2 separate regions of the Homo sapiens genome follow, and region 1 is linked to region 2. The links are contacts of gene promoters, found by promoter capture Hi-C in human tissues and cell types (Jung and others, 2019). All regions are on one chromosome and are shown on one strand. Each heading gives the region's core, a stretch centred on a gene start or on the middle of the fragment in contact. The rest is flanking DNA. Distances are from core to core; before and after follow the strand shown. Region 1 overlaps PAFAH2 (platelet activating factor acetylhydrolase 2). Region 2 holds the start of CD52 (CD52 molecule).

Evidence for each region. Contacts are between HindIII fragments. The study calls those that stand out against the background at their distance.
Region 1: a fragment that was not itself captured here is called in contact with the fragment with the promoter of CD52 in region 2 in 4 of the 25 tissues and cell types used here (H1 embryonic stem cells, adrenal gland, bladder and 1 more).

Annotation. Positions count from the first base shown.
Region 1 is chr1:25,988,444-25,995,115 of GRCh38, reverse strand. It overlaps PAFAH2 (platelet activating factor acetylhydrolase 2), which reads left to right. Exons shown (of 11, transcript NM_000437.4): 2 at 4,253-4,389; 3 at 5,515-5,668. The coding sequence starts at 4,300. Among named protein-coding and RNA genes, the nearest start is that of PAFAH2, 6.3 kb to the left of the region's middle. RefSeq lists an enhancer at 1,034-1,545. The HindIII fragment of the contact is 7,134 bases long and covers 1-6,502 here.
Region 2 is chr1:26,314,191-26,320,783 of GRCh38, reverse strand. It overlaps CD52 (CD52 molecule), which reads right to left and starts at 2,826. Exons shown (of 2, transcript NM_001803.3): 1 at 2,713-2,826; 2 at 261-613. The coding sequence starts at 2,766. The coding sequence ends at 482. It also overlaps a transcript of UBXN11 not described here. RefSeq lists enhancers at 1,820-1,919, 1,061-2,046, 2,420-2,569, 2,700-2,769 and a silencer at 2,844-3,036. The HindIII fragment of the contact is 5,127 bases long and covers 1-4,466 here.

The DNA.
Region 1 (6,672 bases), core at 1,686-4,185, 330 kb after region 2:
AGACAAAGTGAGCAAAAGAAGGTAGAGACACATAGACTGATTTCCTTGGAAAATTCCATGACTTTTATTAGAAATGACTCTGGATGCTTTGTGTAAATGTCTCTTTGGCAAAATTTGCAACTCAGATTGGATTTTTCCATCTCTCCATCCTATTTGGACATCAGTCAATGTGAGTCCAGGAAATAAAGATTCATTTGCGTGTTAGCTTCACTCTGGCCAATTAGCTTCTGTAATTTTTATTTCCAAACAATTTAGTTGATGATCTTCCCAGAAACTTTCCAGGAGCACCAGAGAGTTCTGCTGTCTTCTGTTTGGCCATTTCCAAGTCCGCTTATCCTGATTCCTATCCCAAGTGCTGTTCTCTATGCAGAGTGAGACAAAAATCTGTTCCCATAAGAAGCTTAAGGACTATTGTCCTGGTTCCCCAATCTTAAAACCTGACTTATTGGCTCTTGACTCCCCAGATTCACTCAGTGGCCAAACCCTAGTGTTTCTACTTTTCACTCAATCAGCACATTTCTTGGATGCTTCCTAAGAGTCAGGTACCACACCAGATGCTTTGAATGCATTATTTCATTTTATTTCCACAGCAACCCTGTGAGGATGGATAGTGTTCCCATTGTACAGATGGGGAATCAAGCTTAGAGAGATCAGATAACTTGCATAAGATAAGAAAGCTAGGCAGGGCTGGCACGGTGGCTCACTCCAGTAATCCCAAGCACCTTGGGAGGCTAAGGCAGGATTATCGCTTGAGCCCAAGAGGTTGAGACCAGCCTGGGCAACATGATGAAACTCCATCTCTACAAATAAATACAAAAATTAGCCGGGTGTGATGGCAAGTGCCTATAGTCCCAGCCACCCAGGAGGCTGAGGTGGGAGCATCACTTGAGCTGGGAGGGTGAGGCCACAGTGAGCCACTGCACTCCAGCCTGGGAGACAGAGCAAGACCCTGTCTCAAAAAAAAAAAAAAAAAGCTAGGCACCAAATGAGCTGGGCCTCCAATGTGGTTCTTTCAGACTATCTCTCATGGACATGACCTCATTTCCAGAGTAGATTCCAACTTTTTAGCTTAGCACTTGAGGGACTGCTCCTCCCCAAATCTGGTCACAACTTTCTCTTCTCACCTTGCGTTGTTTCTCACACAAGCTTCCTTCTTACCGTGCCTTTGCTTGCTCTCTCCTGCTTGAAAGAGCCTTTCCCATCTTCCCCTGCTCTCTACTTCCAAGCTAAAGGAGCACTGTTTCTTCTCAGAACTCCTGTGGTCTTTTATCTGCTTTTCTTTTATGACAGTTGAACTTGCAGCTGCTTCATTGTCATGTGAGTGACAGGTGTCTTGTGGCCCCAGCAGTAGGTCTTCCATTTGCAGACCTCAACAACAAGCGATGGGGAAAGGTCAGGGTCTCAGGCTAAGCAGAGCTCATCCCCCTTCACTCTGGCTGAACAACCCACTGACATCAGGAGCTTAGCTTCTTTTTCAAAAGAATTGGGTTTGTTTTTAAATTTGCTAAAAAGAAACAAAATGAAGATGCTATCTGTAGTAGAAAGAAAATAATTTCTTATCTTTCAAAGTTAAATAGAATGATGTTAGGATTGTTGAGACCAGACAAGTGGCAGCTGACAACCAGGAGACTGTGTGTTGTTATCATCGTTCTGCTTGTGACTCTGAGCAGCTCACTTAATCTCTCCGGACCTTGGTGTCTTCCCTGGTAAAGCACGTGTATGTACGCGGAGAAGGGGAAAACGATTGTGGAGGGGATTGACGGAAATGCTCCCTTAGGTCTCTTCTTACCCAGACATGCTTTGACTGGAACTCCTGAATCCCTCCCAGAGCATCTTAAAGGAAGCAGAATAATTTAATCATTAACATGTGGACCCCAGACTCAGTGTGTATCCATTTAGATGCTTTTGGTTACAACCAAAAGAAATCTAACTTCAGTTGGTTTAACCAAGAAAGGGAACTTACTGACTCATGTAACTAGAAAGTCTAGGAGTGGGTCAGGTTTCAGGTATGGTCTAATCTGTGGATTCTTAATGTCTTCACAAATGGGCCTCTATTTCTCTGTGATTCTTCTGGTTTTCCCATCCACCATGGGTATCTTCATCCTCAAGGTGGCAAAAGTGGCTGCTGTGGTTCAAGGCCACTTGACAGGTGACATCTGCACATCACACTAGTCCAACACAGGAAATAACTTTTCTCCCCTCAACCGTCATACCAAAGTCCCGGGTTTTACGCCTATTGGACCAACCTAATGCCATACGCGCACTTTTCATCCAAATACTGACCGGAGAATAAGAAGGACTGATTGGCTCCGGTTAATTAAGGCTCAACTCCGGAGGTTAAGGAGGGGTCAGCCCCACCCAAATCACAAGGCAAGGGACACTGGGAAGTTTGACATTCTCATGTTACAACCACATTGTCCATGATCGAATTCTGGCTCTGCTCGCCATATGTTATTGGGTAAATTGCCTTTGTCAAGCATCTGTTTCCTCATCTGTAAAATGAGATAATAATACGTATCTCAGAGGACTGTTGAAAGAATTAAATAAAATAATATGTGAAAAGCACTAAACATAGTTCCTGGCACAGAGTAAGTATGATGATGATGGTGGTGTTGGAGATGATGAAACTGAAGAGGGTTAGGGGAGCACTGGCACCAGTTTAGGAAGCAGCTGAGCCGTAGGAATGTTATCTAGTCAGGAGTGTGCATGCCTGTCATGCTGAAAGCATCTGTTTGATCTACTGCCCACATCATACTTTTCCCTACCTCTGCTTTTTTTCCTCTTAGGATTTTTTCTATAAGTGCTTTCTTCCTCCTCCCCTGCCTCTCAACTTCCTCATCTTTAAAGGCCCAGCATAAGTGCTACCCCATATTCAGTAGTTTAAAAGCTGGGTGTGGTGGCTCTTACCTGTAATCCCAGCTACTTGGGAGGCCTAGGCAGGTGTATTGTTTGAGCCCAGGAGTTTGAGACCAGCCTGGACAACATAGCAAGACCCTGTCTCTCAAAAAAATCAAACGGTTTTAAGAAAAAGCTTAGTTCAGTAACTTTGCATCTGTATAACTGAATCTCCCCCTGAGCAGGATCAGTAATGGTTAAGAACTTAGCTTCCGGATTAGGCAGAGATGGGTTTGCCACTGGGTAACTTGGGAAGGTTATTCAACCTCTTTATGCCTTAGTTTCCTCATCTGTAAAACAGGGTCTTTTGTTTGTTTGTTTGTTTTTTGAGACAGGGTCTCACTCTGTCACCCAGGCTGGAGTGCAGTGGTGCAATCTCGGCTCACTGCAACCTCTGCCTCCCAGGTTCAAGCGATTCTCTTGCCTCAGCTTCCTGAGTAGCTGGGACTATAGGTGCCTGCCACTGCACCCGGCTAATTTTTGTATTTTTAGTAGAGACGGGGTTTCGCCATGTTGGCCAGGCTGGTCTTGAACTCCTGACCTCAGGTGATCTGCCCGCCTCGACCTCCCAAAGTGCTTGGATTACAGGCGTGAGCCACCGTGCCTGGCCAAAACAAGGTCTTAATAGTACCTACCTCAGGCCAGGCGCGGTGGCTCACGCCTGTAATCCCAGCACTTTGGGAGGCCAAAGTGGGTAGATCACGAGGTCAGGAGATCAAGACCATCCTGGCCAACATGGCGAAACCCCGTCTCTACTAAAAATTAAACAAAAAATTAGCTGGGCATGGTGGCACGTGCCTGTAATCCCAGCTACTCAGGAGGCTGAGGCAGGAGAATCGCTTGAACCAGGGAGTCGGAGGTTGCAGCGAGCAAGATCATGCCACTGCACTCCAGCCTAGCAACAGAGCGAGACTCCGTCTCAAAAAAAAAAGTACCTACCTCAGAGAGTGGTTGAGACAATGAAATGATGCAATGTGTATAGTGTCTATAAAGAGGTCAGTACAGTGCTAACCGTAAATAATGGATCTTAGTGGTTACTATTAGCCTCAGGAGAGCAAGGTCTGTGTGACAGTCTCTGCAGCAGTAGCTGCTGGATAAACATACGTTAATGGGCTGTAAGGAGTATGGATGGCTCTCTTTCGTCTTCCAGCCATCTCCTCACCCTAGCAAAATAAAAAACAACCCCCAACCTTGGCAAAGGCAATGTAGCAAAGTAGTAGGTGCAAGATTTAATGAGCGACGGCAGGGAGGATGAGGTGCTAAGGAGGGGTGGACAGGGTAACAGATAACACATTTCAGCAACAGGAAGCCGAGAGGAAACCAGCAAGCGGCTGCTGTTCTGTGTTCCCCCATCCAGCCAGCAAGTTCAGCTCCGGCAAGTCATTTGATTCACCCGGTGATGAAATGGGGGTCAACCAGTCTGTGGGCTTTCCACCTGTCACAGGACCCCACCTCGTAGGCTGTGGGGATGTGATGGAGGGTCAGAATCTCCAGGTAAGTGTCCCCAGCTCCCTTTCTTCTGTTTGCACTGCTTCTGCCGGCACCGTGACTTACTGATCACAAGTCTGATCCTGTATTCCCACGGTGGGGAAAATGAATTAGAGCGGGTCTGGATTTGGTTATCAAGCCCCCAGGTCTGTCTTCCTGAGCTTTTTCTTCCTCTTTCCAAACATTAGAAACATCCCAATAGACAGAGATAATGCGTTCATTTTCCACCTAGGAGGAAAGGGGGGACTCTAGCTTTAGAGGCAGCTCGCAGATCCTCTCACCTTTCTTGAGGGCAGATGCCTGATCTTGGAAGGGTTTTAATCGTATCATAATCTGAGTGTGTGAGAGAAAGAGCCATGGGCGTGTGCCTTTGGCCTTGGACTCCCTGACCTGGGTAGGGGGACAGCTTCCTTTTCTCTCTCCTGCCTTGATCTGTTTTCCCCTCCTGCTTTGACTTCTGGACTGGTCCTCTATCTTATATATATGTATATATAGTAGAGACGAGGCCTTGCTATGTTGCCCAGGCTGATGTCTAACTCCTGGCCTCAAGCGACTCTCCTACCTCGGCTTCCCAAAGTGCTGGGATTACAGGCATGAGCCACTGTGCCTGGCTTAGTTCCTAGGTCTTTCTCTGCTAGCCCTTGGACTTCCTGTCTCCCTTGAGAGGCACACACTTCCTAGTAACCCCTCACCTACTCCCATGTAAAATGAGTGTGCTGTTGCTTCCCAGGGGCTGTCCTAGAGCAGAGTGGCCTGGATGAGCTACCAAGGCCACCCTGTTCAGCACGAGAACTAATCTCTAACTCCTGGGGCTCCTCTAGGCCTAGGTTCAGGGCCAGATTTAAATCTTTCATTGTCCCAAGCACTCAAATATTTTTGGTGCCCCCTCCCACAATGTAATTCAAAATACAGTTGGCTATTTGAAATAACGTAAGCTTTACATATATGCTAAAAATCAAATTGCTTCTTTCCAGATTTCTGAATGTGAAATTCAGGCATGCTAATTGAAACTTCAGTTTCCCTGTTTTGGTGCCCTGTTTTGCTGGTGCCCCAAACACCTGCTGAGTGTGGCTGTTGGGAAATCTAGCCTGGGCTCCTTGCTCTGAGCAGCTGCTCTCTTCTTTCCTACAGGGGAGCTTCTTTCGACTCTTCTACCCCTGCCAAAAGGCAGAGGAGACCATGGAGCAGCCCCTGTGGATTCCCCGCTATGAGTACTGCACTGGCCTGGCCGAGTACCTGCAGTTTAATAAGCGCTGCGGGGGCTTGCTGTTCAACCTGGCGGTGGGTAAGGGCTGGCCTGACCTCTGCATGCTTTCCCAGTTGCTTGGTTATGTTCCTGGGAGATCCCCAGGTGGACGCAGTACCTTATAGCCTGCAGTGTCCAGGCTTTTGTAAGGGGCATCCATTAGCCAGTGTGGTATGGAGAGTTGGGAGAGAATTACATATGAAAGAGCTTTGGTGACTGAGTTAGACTTTCCTGGATTCAAATCCAGACTTTATAAGTTACTAGCCATGGGGTTTGGGCAAGTTACTGAACCTGTCTAAATACATGTCTTTGGGGGTTTGTAGTACGGGATGTACGTAAAGCCTCTAATGCGGTGCTTGGGACATATAATGTGTTCCATAAATGGCACTGATTGCTCCTTTGTTTAGCATGTATTAATTCCTACTCTGTGCCAGCTATTGTGTGTATCAAAGAAAGATTCTTAACTGTCAAGGAGCGTACAGTTTCCTGCAGTTTTCCCTCCAGTCACCCCTCTTCTGAGTAGGGTAACATTGAGTCATCCACTTCCCCCAAAGGTCCCACACCTAGGAATTCCACCCAGTGCCTTGGCATCTCAGCAGTTTACCCCGGGTTCAGTACTGCCACTTTGGACTTAGCTTCCCATTTTCTTTTCCTTTTTTTTTTTTTTTTTTTTTTTTTTTGGTGAGATGGAGTCTTGCTCTTGTTGCCCAGGCTGGAGTGCAATGGCACAATCTCAGCTCACTGCAACCTTCGCCTCCAGGGTGCAAGTGATTCTCCTGCCTCAGCCTCCTGAGTAGCTGGGATTATAGGAGCCCGCCACCACGCCCAGCTAATTTTTGTATTTTTAGTAGAGACGGGGTTTCACTTGGCCAGGCTGGTCTCTTGACCTCGTGATCCGCCCTCCTTGGCCTGCCAAAGTGCTGGGAATACAGGCGTGAGCCACTGCGCCTGGCTTAGCTTCCCATTTTCTGTTGTGTTCACTCTTCCTAGGGAAGAAAGGGAGAAGAAATAGGTGATTAACTGCCCTGAGCTGCTCAGGGGCC
Region 2 (6,593 bases), core at 1,577-4,076:
TACCATCATTCCCAAACACCCAGGGATGGATGAAGCAAACGCAACTGCAGGGTTGGTGAGGCTGCCAGGTTCTGGGCCTTGTCCCTGCAATGTGCTTCTAAGGGGAAGGGCCCTCAGCATTGGAATTTAGGTGGGGAAGCTGGGGGCTGCTCCCTGGTGCCAATTTCCCTGCTGATGGGGACATGGGAAACTCCCTGGTGCTGCTGCACAGCTGGCTCTTGGGGCGTAGGGATGTCCAGTAACCACAAGCAGGACCCCACTGCAAGTACAAGGGTAACTTTATTGACCCCCAGCTGGGCACTGCTTGGCCCCTACATCATTACCCCCCTATTTTGGCTGTTGCCCCCATGGCACTGCCTGTCAACTTCTACAACCTGGTGATGTCTGGCATCAACCCCTCCCAAAGATGGAGGGGATTCTCTTGCGAGTGATGGTGGCAGCTGTTTCAGGGGGCACAGGGCTAAGGCTGAGACGTGTCACCTCAACTGAAGCAGAAGAGGTGGATTATGGCATTGGCCACGAAGAAAAGGAAAATGCCTCCGCTTATGTTGCTGGATGCTGAGGGGCTGCTGGTTTGGCTGGTGTCGTTTTGTCCTGAGAGTCCAGTTTGTATCTGTAGGAGGAGAAGTGGGATAAGATCAGGGGACTTTTTTTTTTTTTTTTAGAGGTGGAGTCTCACTCTGTCACCCAGGCTGGACTGCAGTGATGCGATCTCGGCTCACTGCATCCTCCACCTCCCGGGTTCAAGTGATTCTCCTGCCTCAGCCTCCTGAGTAGCTGGGACTATAGGCACGTGCCACCACGCCCGGCTAATTTTTCTATTTTTAGTAGAGACGGGGTTTCACCATGTTGGTCAGGCTGGTCTCGAACTCCTGACCTGGTGATCCACCCGCCTCGGCCTCCCAAAGTACTGGGATTACAGGTGTGAGCCATCGTACCCAGCCCTCAGGGGACTTTTGAATAGCGTGTTTGTTATTTAAAGATGCAGTCCCCTTTCTACCCTCCCCGCCCTCCATCCGCCCACCTCCATAAAACAGTCCTCAGTTCTGCCCCATGTGACCACTACTTCTTCCACAAGGTCCTGTCAGGATGTTTGACTGCTTCCTGCTTTGACACAGGCAGGGACAGAGGTGATCACTGCCCCTGTCCACCCCCTTTCACAGAAACTTTCTGTTTTTTTGAGATAGAGTTTCGCTCTTTTGCCCAGGCTGGAGTGAAGTGGCATGATCTCGGGTCACTGCAACCTCCACCCCTCAACCTCCCGAGTAGCTGGGATTATAGGCAGCCGCTATCACGCCCAGCTAATTTTTTTTTTTTTTCCGAGACAGAGTCTTGCTCTGTCGCCCGCCCAGGCTGGAGTGCAGTGGCGTGATCTCGGCTCACTGCAAGCTTCACCCCCAGGTTCACGCCATTCTCCTGCCTCAGCCTCCCGAGTAGCTGGGACTACAGGCGCCCGCCACCACGCCACGCCCGGCTAATTTCTTTTTGTATTTATGGTAGAGACGAGGTTTCAATGTGTTAGCCAGGATGGTCTCGATCTCCTGACCTCATGATCCACCCGCCTCAGCCTCCCAAAGTGCTGGGATTACAGACGCGAGCCAGCGCGCCCGGCTCGCCCAGCTAATTTTTGTATTTTTAGTAGAGACGGGATTTTGTCATGTTGGCCAGGCTGGTCTTGAACTCCTGACCTCAGGTGATCCGCCTGCCTCGGCCTCCCAAAGTGCTGGGATTATAGGCGTGAGCCACCGTGCCCGGTCACAGAACCTTTCTTTTCACCTTTCCCCAGCGACCAGCCCTTCTGGCATAGAGGGAGACAGGGGAGCCCTGGCCCTTGACCTTCCTAGCCTGGCAAAGGGCTTAGCTTCCCTGAGCCTCAGTTTCATCTTCTGAGTGGGGAGAAGTTCATCACAGTTGTGAAGGTCACATGAGCCAGGGCTGAGTGAGAAAGCACTTGGCAAAGCGTGGGTGGCTGGATGTGGGGTGGGGAAGTGGCCAGATGGTGATCGAGCTGTCCTTAATGCTTGATGGAGCTGCAACTAGAACTGTTCTTGATGGAGATTAAGCTGGTTTTGATGGTGATCAAGCTGTTCTTGATCAAGAACTTGATGGCTCCGGTCTGCTGTACTGACTCCCCTCTGGGCACCTGGGATGCTACCAAAGCTGCCTCCTGGAATAGCAGTCGCTTTTGAGACTCCAGTTGTTTCTGAAATGGGAGAGTCCTGTCTTCTTTGCATTCCTGAACATCCAGGCTTCTCTCTGGCAGGGGAGTGGGGGTTAGAGTGTCCCCTGTCACCTCCATAACCACAGCAGGCTCCACTTGGACATCTCCTGGCCTCTCCCCAAAGGACCATCTCCCCAGACTCCCTGTGGGCCGATGCCTTCCTCACTCAGGGTTGTCTTCCCAAGTCTCTTAGTTCTCTATTATTCCACAACACCCCTTGGGTGCCCCAACGCGCCTAGCACCCTGTAAGTGCTCCCCAGCTGTGGATACAGGTTTCTCTCAGGGCAGCCCGCAAGCAGTGCAGCCCCAGCCAGAAGAGCTGGAAGGCTGGGCGGCCAGGCCCGCTGTGTCCCCAGTTTTCCTGTTGGAGTCCATCTGCTGTGCTCTCAGGAGAGAAGGCTGGGTCTCTGGGAGCTCACATCCTGTATGCCCTCCCTCCATGCCAAGCAACTTTGGGGAGTCCTGGCAGTGGTGCCAGGCGTTGCTCTTACCTGTACCATAACCAGGAGGCTGATGGTGAGTAGGAGGAAGAGGAAGCGCTTCATTTTGGTAGGATCTTCGTGGCTGTCTTGGTAGCAGCTTTTTAGGTGATCTCAGGGCTGTCTGGAGGCTTCTTTTGGTTTAGCTGCTTTTGAACCAGGAGGCAGAGGAGGCGGGGTGAGGTAGGGAGAGGAAGGAGGGCTTACAAGGTGGAGGAGGGGTGTGGCTTCCTTTCTGCAGATCTGGGGGTGGATAATACCAGGCTCTAGGTTCTAAGGCCCTGGCTGGGGGAGCAGGCTAGATCGTACAAGATAGGAGAGAGGTCAATCCAGAGGCAACGGTGGGAGTAAGTAGGGCCCAAGGCCTGGAATCATGCATCCTGCAGGCTGAATCCTGGTTTAATCACTGACCAGCTCTGAGACCCTGGGCCAGAAACTCTACCTCTCTGACCCTTTAACAAAAGAACTGCCGGATTACATGTAATAATAACCAATTTAAAAAGAGCCAGAACATAGCAGATATTCCGTAAATGAGTTTGTTGTTTAAAGAAGATTGGGGCAGGGTATAGGAGCTGAAGGAGAAGGGCTGGGATAGATTTATGTTTCAAGGGAAGGTTGTAGATGGGCTGCAGGTTCTGAATGAAAGCTTGGGAAATGTTTAGATTGTGGAAGGGTTGGTGGATTTCTGTGAAGGTGCTGGAGGTGAGGAATCGGGAAGCCTGGTTTCAGTTGGGCTTTCCCTCTCTAGGCCTCAGTTCCTCATTTCAAGGAACTGGGAAGACTGAAATAGATTATTTCTGAAGTTTGTTAAAACCTAGTGTTTTGTTTTGTTGTTGTTGGTTTTTTTGTTTTTTTTTTTAAACAGAGTTTTGCTCTGTGCACTGGCATGATCTCGGCTTACTGCAACCTCCACCTCCTGGGTTCAAGCAATTATCCTGCCTTGGCCTCCCGCATAGCTGGGACTACAGGTGTGTGCCACCATGCCTGGCTAATTTTTTGTATTTTTTTTTTTTTTTTAGCGGAGACTGGGTTTCACCATGTTGGCTAGGCTAGTCTCGAATGCCTGATCTCAAGTGATCCGCCTGCCTCGGCCTCCCAAAGTGCTGGGATTACAGGCATGAGCCACCGCGCCCAGCCAAGACCTAGAATTTTGTGATTTTGGTAGAGAAAGTAGCAAGCAGATGGGTTGTTTGTATTAGCTGAGGATGAATGGGAGGGGAGCGAGGGAAGGGACAAGTGGGTGACTAAGCTACAGTGGAAGGGGACTGGGGTGAGAGAGTGGCTGTGAGGGCCCAGGGAGGGGTGGGGGGATGAGAGGAATCCCACAGCTGCCTGGATAGTGCTCCATGCTTTATGCATTCCCTCACTTGATACCCTCTGTGGTGCCCTGCAGCAGGTGTTATGTTTATCCCCATTTGACTGGTGAAAAAACTGAGGCTTAGATGTTAAGTGACTTGCTAAGGTCGTAAATGGTGGAGCCAGTCTCATTTGACCTTGAATCCAGGTCTGTCTGAAGCCACAGCCATGTATGTAACCTCTGGGGCTGCCCTAGAATTCATCCATTAAGTCTTGATTCCCTGCCACTCCCTCCCCCTCCCCTACACAAACTCCCCCCAGGCCCCAGGAGTTGGTCACCACAACCCCAGCTCTGGCCCACTCTCCCTTCACACTCTCCCTTCCTTAGTCTACTTTAGGCCTCATTTACATGCTAGGTAGTAAAGGGAAAACTCCCCTCACTTCTCTTCTATTGTTTTGGGCCTTGTGTTGCAAGCCCAGGGGAGATCTGGCTGAGGCTGAGTCCAAAGAAAAAAACAGAGGCTGGGCATAGGGGCTACGCCTGTAATCCTAGCAGTTTGGGAGGCTGAGGCGGGCAGATAACTTGAGCACAGGAGTTTGAGACCACCCGGGCAACATAGGAAGGCCCCATCTCTCAAAAAAAAAAAAAAAAAAAAAAAAAATTAGCCGGGCATAGTGGCACAAACCTATAGTCTCAGCTACTTGGGGGCTGACGCAGGAGGATTGCTTGCACCTGGGAGGCCCAGGCTGCAATGAGCCATGATTGTGGCACTGCACTCCAGCCAGGGTGACAGAGCAAGACCCTGTCTCAAAAAAAAAAAAAAAAAGGCCAGGAAACAGTGGCTCACGCCTGTAATCCCAGCATTTTGGGAGGCCGAGGTGGGTGGATCACCTGAGGTCAGGAGTTCTAGACCAGCCTGGCCAACATGGTGAAACCCTGTCTCTACTGAAAATACAGAAATTAGCCAGGTGTGCTGGCACATGCCTGTAATCCCAGCTACTCGGGAGGCTGAGGCAGGAGAATCACTTGAACCCGGGAGAAGGAGGTTGCAGTGAGCCGAGATCGTGCCATTGCACTCCAGCCTGAGCGACAAGAGAAAAACTCCATTTCAAAAAAAGAGAAGAGAAGAAAAGAAGAACTGAGAGTCAAAGCTGATGAGAGAAAGCCAGGAAGTGGAGAGGGAGGGGCGGGGAGGGAGAGAAGAGGGAGGAGTCCCCAGCCATCCATCACCCTCTTTCCCCATCCCTGCCCTTTCACCCAGAGGTCTCTCCTCACCCTTGACTCAAGTTCTCAGCTGTCTTTGGTGTGCCTGTGGGGGTGAGTGATTCTGGGGTTCATGAGAGTCAGGGAGGTGTCCTGTGCCAGAAGGGCACCAGCCCAGAAGACAGGATACCCGTGTTGAAGTCTGAGATTACTCTGCTGAAAATGAGCTCCATCACACTGTGCAATCTTCTCCCCTCTTACAAAGAGGCAGCCAGACAGGACGAGCCTGGGGCCAGCCGTGTTATAGTTTCCCATGCTGGAGATGCATGCGAGGATACTAAATGCCAGACTCTTATTTGTAAACATTTTCTTGCAAACCTCAGAAGCTTCATTTTCACCTCCTGACACCCTGAGGAGTATCTTCTACAGTCCATGTATTTCCTCTGCAAGGAAAGCCCTTCTCCAATTATTTTACCTGGCAAACTCTTTTTTTTTCCCCTCGAGTCAGGTTCTTGCCGTTGTCACCCAGGCTGGAGTACAAGTGGTGCAATCATAGCTCACTGTAACCTCGAACTCCTGGGCTCAAGCAATCCTCCCGCCTCATCCTCCTAAGTACCTGGGACTACAGGTGCATGCCACCATGCCCAGCTAATTTTTGGGGTGGTGGAGGGTGGAGTTTTGCTATGTTGCCCAGACTGCAAACTCTTCTTTATTCTTCAAGATTTAGCTTAGAAGCCCCTTCCCCAGGGAAACTTTCCACTTTCCCTAGGAAACTCAAAGTTCCTAAATGTTCGAAGGGCCCTTTCTGTTGACCTCTGTTCTAAAGATTGTGTCTACCAAGAATATGGTCTGTCCCTTGTGGGTTGGGACTAGATTTTGTCACTTCTCTTACTCAGCGAAGCACAGAACATGGCACAGTGTAGGTGTCAGGGACTGCCGGAAGAATGAGTGCGTGTATTCATCTAGATCTATTCCCACCTCCGAGCCTAGTAGTCCTGCATTTATTCATCCAGTAAATATTTACTATGGGGCAACAGTAAAGTCAGTACTGAAAAGTTACCAATGCAGAAAAGAAATAAGGGACTGAGAGAAGCAAGCCCTTTATATGGAGCTGCTTTCCTCCTAAAAGTATGCCACTTGCAGAGGGGACAGCTGAGAAACTGAGCTGAGCTTTCTCATCTTCACATACTTACAAATGTATGGGAGAAAAACTATAGTTCTAGATTCTCTAAGAAAGGGGAGCCCTGACAAACTCCCCCCACCTAGGCTTTGGGTTGGACCACGGGGAGTGAGAGTAAACAGGAAACAACAGCCCAACCCTCAAAGAAATTGAAGACAACATGACCAAAAAGCAGAAACAGATAATAGAAAGTTATACAAAAGATCCAGATAA